2 separate regions of the Homo sapiens genome follow, and region 2 is linked to region 1. Evidence: promoter capture Hi-C in 16 types of primary human blood cells and fetal thymus (Javierre and others, 2016). All regions are on one chromosome and are shown on one strand. The core of a region is centred on a gene start or on the middle of the fragment in contact, and the rest is flanking DNA. Distances in the headings are between cores, read along the strand shown.

What was found. The method cuts DNA at HindIII sites, captures the fragments that hold promoters and counts their contacts. A CHiCAGO score of 5 or more calls a contact.
Region 2: a contact is called between a fragment that was not itself captured here and the fragment with the promoter of RELL1 in region 1, in 1 of 17 cell types (fetal thymus). The highest score is 7.2, in fetal thymus.

What each region holds. Positions count from the first base shown.
Region 1 is chr4:37,684,637-37,688,020 of GRCh38, forward strand. RELL1 (RELT like 1) reads right to left here and starts at 1,740. Exons shown (of 7, transcript NM_001085400.2): 1 at 1,564-1,740. The coding sequence starts at 1,651. RefSeq lists silencers at 1,279-1,948, 2,129-2,438. The HindIII fragment of the contact is 3,799 bases long and covers 638-3,384 here.
Region 2 is chr4:38,853,554-38,856,765 of GRCh38, forward strand. It overlaps TLR6 (toll like receptor 6), which reads right to left. Exons shown (of 2, transcript NM_006068.5): 1 at 3,208-3,212. Among named protein-coding and RNA genes, the nearest start is that of TLR6, 1.7 kb to the right of the region's middle. The HindIII fragment of the contact is 1,497 bases long and covers 1,094-2,590 here.

The DNA.
Region 1 (3,384 bases), core at 490-2,989:
GCAATCAAACGCAGGATGAAAATCAAAATGAACCAGCAGGGCATGGTGGCTCATGCCTGTAATACCAGCACTTTGGGAGGCCGAGGCAGGAGGATCACTTGAGGTCGGGAGTTCGAGACCAGCCTGGCCAATATGGCAAAACCCCATCTCTACTAAAAATACAAAAATTAGCCGGGCATGGTGGCACATGCCTGTAATCCCAGCTGCTCAGAAGGCTGAGGCAGGAGAATCACTTGAACCAGAGAGCTGGAGGTTGCAGTGAGCCGAGGTTGTGCCACTGCACTCCAGTCTGGGTGACAAAATGAGCCCCTGTATCAAAATAAGGAAAAGAAAAAAAAAATTGTCCCATCCAGTAAAACATGTCACTAGCTGCCATTTCCCCAGGTGGATGGCTAACGGAAATACGGGCCTGCTAAAAAGACTCAGGAGACAATATTATCCATCTCCTTCCCTTCCAACCTGCTCTGGTTTCTATGAAAAAGTGAAGGCCAAACTGCTAAGTCAGTGTAAAAGTTGTAAGCGACTGAAATGTTCTCAGGAGGAAGAGTTTATGGATGTTTATGGAGGAGACAGTCACTGTTGAAAGGCTTCCAGTTGCTTATTATTTGGGCCTGAGGAGGAACCACCGCTGAAATCAAGCTTGGAAGAGCTTGCTGACGTCAGATTCCCAGCTGTAGTAACCCCAAATGGCCAAGTAAGTATGTTTTTTTTTTAACTGCAGCTGTTAGGTGGCAATTAAGAGGGGAAGCGGTGGTAAGGAATCCCTAGTGTCTGTAATTATAAAAGCAAGGATGTGACATAGGACTTCCATAAAACTTACACCTCCTCTTAAGATTGATTTCAATTAAAAACTGCTTCATCGTTGGTGACACTTTAGCATCTCTGTTGGTGGCTTCCTGCCCTGACCACACAAGGTTCCTTTCGTGACGACAGGAATCAACAAAAAGAAGAAAAAAATGTAAGTTTACCAACGCGCCTTCCCTTTTTCCGAGCCTGATTTATACAGGATATATGGGAAGAAATGTGGACTCCTTGACCTGTTACAAGAATCCATCAACCACCCAAATAAATGGAAACGTGGAAAGAGATTCAAAGTCCTCCAGGTTTTAGGATATTTTAAGGTATTTAAAAGGGAGAAGGAGGCGCCGACAGCGCACCCGGTGCTCTGTGTCACGATCTTCCGCTCGCGGCGCCTTTGAGGACAAGGGCGGCGGGAAACGGGTCCGCGGGGTTCCGAGGCGAGCGGCCGTGGAGGAAGCGCCCCCGAAGAAGGCCTGGTCCCTACGCCCCGCACTGCCCAGCGCTGGGGAACACAGATCCTCGGAGGAGGCCCCAGGGAGGGAAGGCGGGAGCGGGGCCCGCGGGAGGGGAGGGACGGGAGCCGTTGCCACGCACCGCGCCCTGCCCGGACCGCCGCGGGACAGCCAGTTGTTCAGTGCCGGGATCCCGCGGCTGTGCCAGAAAGCAGGACGCCGCGGGGCTGCCGTCCCGACCCCTCGCTTCCTTCCGCGCTCCCGGGACCGGGCTCAGCACCCGGCGCCCCGGCTACGACCGGACACTCACCCGGAGCCACCAGCGGCGAACTCACGGCGCCTCCCACGAAGACAGCAGCGGCTAGGACGGCGGACCCCGGGAGTGCCCGCGGAGCCATCGCCGCGTCGCTTCGCCCTCCTCCCCCAGGGCGCCGCGTCCCGCGCTCGGGAAGGCAGAGCCGCTCCGGAGCCGGCGGGCTGATCGAGTGGCTGGGCTGGGCCCCAGGGAGCGGCGAACCCCGCCCCGCCATTGCCCCGCCCCACGCCACACCCACCTCGGCTCGGTCCCGCCTCTCCCCGCGCGCCCCGGGCTCCACCTAAGCCGGCACGAGGTCCACTCATGGCTCCGCCCCCGACTCCCCGCCCACCTCAGCCTGATCCCGCCTCTCCCTGCCATTCCCGCTTCCTTTCCAAACCCCGCAGCAGCCTCAGCGGCGTAGCTAGGCCATGGACACGCCCTCTTTCTCCACCCACCTCAGCTTGGCCCCGCCTCTCCCTACCGAGCCCCGGACTCCACCTAAGAAGGCACGTGGCCCATCCATGGCCCCGCCCTTTTCCCCACCCACAGCTCAGCCCGACCCCTCCTCTCCCGCTTCCTTTCCAAACCCAGCAGCAGCCTTGGCGGCGCAGTTAGGCTATAGCCCCGCCCTTGCGCCCTGCCCACCGTGGCCCGGCCGTGCCTCTACTTGCCAGGCCCGCTTCCTTTCCAAGCCGGGCCGGGATTACGCGGGAGCCCGGGGCGGGGGGAGGGTCGCCCGGGTGCAACCTCCCTCGGTCGCTGGGACTAGGCGGGCGTGGGAAGAGAAAGAGGGAGCGCGCCCCGAGAAGCACTGGACAGTCAGAAGCGGCCAGCACTGGAGTGAGCACAGGCTTTTTTCGCTGTTGGCATGTCTATCCACTAGCATTCCCCTCGGTTGCAGATCTAGGGAGTGATGCTGTGCTGGATGTCACGTTCTGTTGTTTGGAAATTAGCAGAAAAGATAACTTAAATTTCTTCCTCTGTTTGTTTGCATTTAAGCTGCTCCTATTGGGGAAAATACCTCTATGCATTTTCAGGAACAACTTGCCTTTTTTTTTTAATCGTGTGCTTGTATTGCACCTTGCGCATACTCCCGCAAAGTAGGTCTTTCAATGCCCAGACGCTTATTATCTCCTCACATCCTCACATCAGCTCTGCGAGGTGACTATTAGAGGCCAGGGAGTAAACCCACGATGTCTGGGCCACCATGATAAATTGTAATTATCTCATTGTCATTGTGTTTGCTCGCTGCTGTGCCCTCAGCGCCTGGATGGAGGACAGACAGCACACGCTAAGAGGTCAGAAGTGTTTTCTGAAGTTGAATCATCTTCACAAGCATTAATAGGACTCAGAGGCTCTCTCTGAATAGTTCCTTTTTACTGCCCTGTAGAGACTGTTGTTACTGGGCCATCAAGCATTTGCTTGAAGGAAATTAGGGCAGGACTTGAGCAAATACTCAACACCAGCAAGAAGAGGGGGTGCATGGAGGCTGTGGGTTTTCACAGGATGGGTCTCATCCTTGAGGTGACTGATAACCTCTAGTTTTCAGAGGACTATTTATTCTCTCACCGAGTCCTCCACGCAGTCTGCTGGACTATTATTACAAACATTGCATTGATGTGGGAATTGCCAGTGACAGAAGCTCAGGCCACTACAGTACAGATGGCTGAGGCTGAAGGATGGAGCCCCTGCCCTTTGAAGCCCAAGGAGGGCACTGCGCGTCCTGCGCTCAGTTGGCAGCGCATCCTACAGTCTGGCAGTCTTAGCAGGCAGCCTTTGCTAGTTTTATATCAACATAAACATTGAGAATGTGTGCGGAGGAAAGCGATCCAT
Region 2 (3,212 bases), core at 592-3,091, 1.2 Mb after region 1:
CCAATAAAAGACTACAATAAAGTGGCCGTCACAAAATAAATTATTATCATTACTATTTTCTTAAACACTTTCTTTTTAAGAGACAGGGTTTTGTCCCACTGCCCAGGCTGGAGTGCAGTGGCACAATCATAGCTTAAGGTCCTGGGCTCATGCCATCCTCTCACCTCAGCCTCCCACGGAGCTGGGGTTACAGGTACAAGCCACTGCTCCTGGCAAAAATAAATTCTATTTTGAAAACAAATCCCTCAATTATCCAAAAATAGCAGGTTATCAAATAAATTTTAGTATCTCTGTATAATTAAATAGTACTATGTAGCCTTTAAAAATAATAAAAATCGAATTGCATGAAAATATTTTCACTATATGTGACAAAAAGCAGTTTATTTAAAAAGTACCAAAGTAAATATGTACCTATGCAAGTAGAAAAATTAATAAGATACATACCAAGATATGAACAGTAATTATCTTTGCACAGTAAGATTATAATGGAACTTTATTTTCCTCTTAGTTTTTATCTATATTTTTCAAACTTTTAACATTCAAAATTAAGTTTACTGTACTATTTACTGAATAATTTGCCAAAAATCAATTGCCAATAATATGAATAATGTGCAATCTCACAAAAAATAAAACAGCACGTTAAATCAAAAAAGCACATAACATCTAGATGAAACTCATGATCTTGGATTAGATCTCAGTTAAGACAGACTTGCTATAAAACATATTCAGTAACAGAAGGAGGGGCAGATTCTATGATGGACCAGCCATTAGATGCTATTAAGAAATAAATTGTAATTTTTTATAATGTTATTTGGCTATTTTAGGAAAATGTAATTTTTTTAGAGATAGAGAATAAAGCTTTTAGAAATAGGTTTCCAGAATGCCTGTTATTTTTACTATAAGATATTTAAGCATAAAAAGAGGAAGGGGGTCAAAGGAGGACTCTTGTTTCTTAAAAGATTTTTTAAAAGGCAAGATTTTTTTTTCACCTATCAAATAGGGAAAATTAAAAAATATAATATCCAGGTTGGTAGGTGGAAACTAAAATAAGAACCCTCATTTACTACTTAGGCAGGAATGAAAAATTAGTACAAGCTTTCTAAAGGGTAATTTGGTAATTTACATAAATTTCTTAAAAATATACCTTCCTTTATTTTAGCAATTCCACTACAAGGAATTTTCTAAAGAAATAGTCAAAAATAACACACAGAAGATATGACTATAAGGATACTCATGACATAATGAAATATTGAAAAAATCAGAATGTCTAGTGTAGAAAATGATTAAATCAGTTATGTATAATTAAATAATAGCCTCAAATACTGTACTTTGAAAAAATGATAATGTTAAATGAATACAGTAATAGAAAATTATGGCCGGGCGCAGTGGCTCACGCCTCTCATCCCAGCACTTTGGGAGGCCAAGGCGGGTGGATCACGAGGTCAGGAGATCGAGACCATCCTGGCTAACGGTGAAACCCCGTCTCTACTAAAAAAAAATACAAAAAAATTAGCCGGGCGTGGTGGCGGGCGCCTGTAGTCCCAGCTACTCGGGAGGCTGAGGCAGGAGAATGGCGTGAACCCGGGAGGCGGAGCTTGCAGTGAGCCGAGATCGTGCCGCTGCACTCCAGCCTGGGCGACAGAGCAAGACTCCGTCTCAAAAAAAAAAAAAAAAAATTATATATGTAGTAAGACTCTAATTTTGCAAAATATGATTAAAACCTGACATATACGTAAAAGCTAGAGGACAAACAATGTGATGAAATATACCAAATACTAATAATAGTGGTTCTCTGAATCTCTGAATTATAGATGAATTTAATTTTCTTTCTTATACTTTCAGATATCCCTAAAATGTCTCATTTTGAATGTCCTTTATAATCCAAAAAAGTTATCGTAAGGCAATTTAAGAGTTGTCTTTATAGCTGTGTGAAAATATTTTATATTTAAAGAAACGTGCTTGTTTTATTTGGAATATTAAAATATAAAGATGGAGAACTTTCAGATAATAGTAGATAACTGGCATTCACAGATGAGGACCTACCCTACAGGTCCCCGGCAACCAGACCCACGGTGTCTGGGTTCATGGGACTGAAAATCAGTCACCAGGTGGAAAAGCTGGTCAGCTGTCCTTATGGTATCCTGCCACAAAAACGCAATATTCCTCCAGAGGCGTTCATACCCTGAGGCAGTTCCTAGGGAATACACTAAATGAACAAGATAGTAACTTTTCTATTTATTGGGAAAAAAGGAGGGAAAAATGGGAAGATGAGAGTGGAAGATTAGAGAGTTCACAGTTTTTTAAAGAAAGTAAAAATAAACAGGTAAATGCTCTTGATTTTTTAAATGCATCAAATAAAAAGGGTGAGGAAATAGATGAAATAAGCTACATTTCAGAAAAAAAGGGTAGACAAGACCTATGAAAATTAAAACTACAAGGAAGAAGAGAGCAGAAAAAAAATTAAGTGAAATAAGTGGAGGAAAGATCACATAATCAAGTTAACAAATAGGCAAGAAAAACATTGTTTCATTTGTCAAACTGAAGGTGGAAGGACCTGGAGGAAGGCAATTGCTACACTGTGCCAGATTCAAGCTTGTGAAGGGGCTTGGTCCCGGCCACTTCCTCCATTTAATAAATGTTTATTCAGAGTCTATTTTTCTGCCAGTGCCATGCTACGCACTAGGCACCAGGGATATAAATATGAATAGGACTGACATAATTCCTGCTTTCAAAAAGCTTATGAATTAGGGACAGACACAGACCAGCAAACTGTTACAGTGACAAACGACAAGGGAGATCAAACACACGTCTGCTGTAAAAACATATAATAAATAGGTGCCATATCAGTGGTATATAAAAATTACTGTTAAATGTTACTGAAAACAATAAACTAGAGAAAGACGAAAAGAGAAAATTCGCTGGGCCAAATCAGAAGAAATAAATAACATTAGTTTTGTTCCTTAATTATCACCACAAGCGCTAGTTGTTTTCTATCTTTTCAAGACAGCTGTAAAGACGCTGCTCTTCATCCTGCTCGTGAAATTCAAAGGACATTTGCAACATCTACAAAAAAAACCACTTCAAATCATTTTGCAAAAATTTCAAGGAAACATTACCTATTTCCTATATAATGAATGGTTAGCAAACTTGCTTACTTGAAGCACCTGTGCCATAATGTGAAAAAGCCACAGAAGTCTTTCTACTTACCAAGA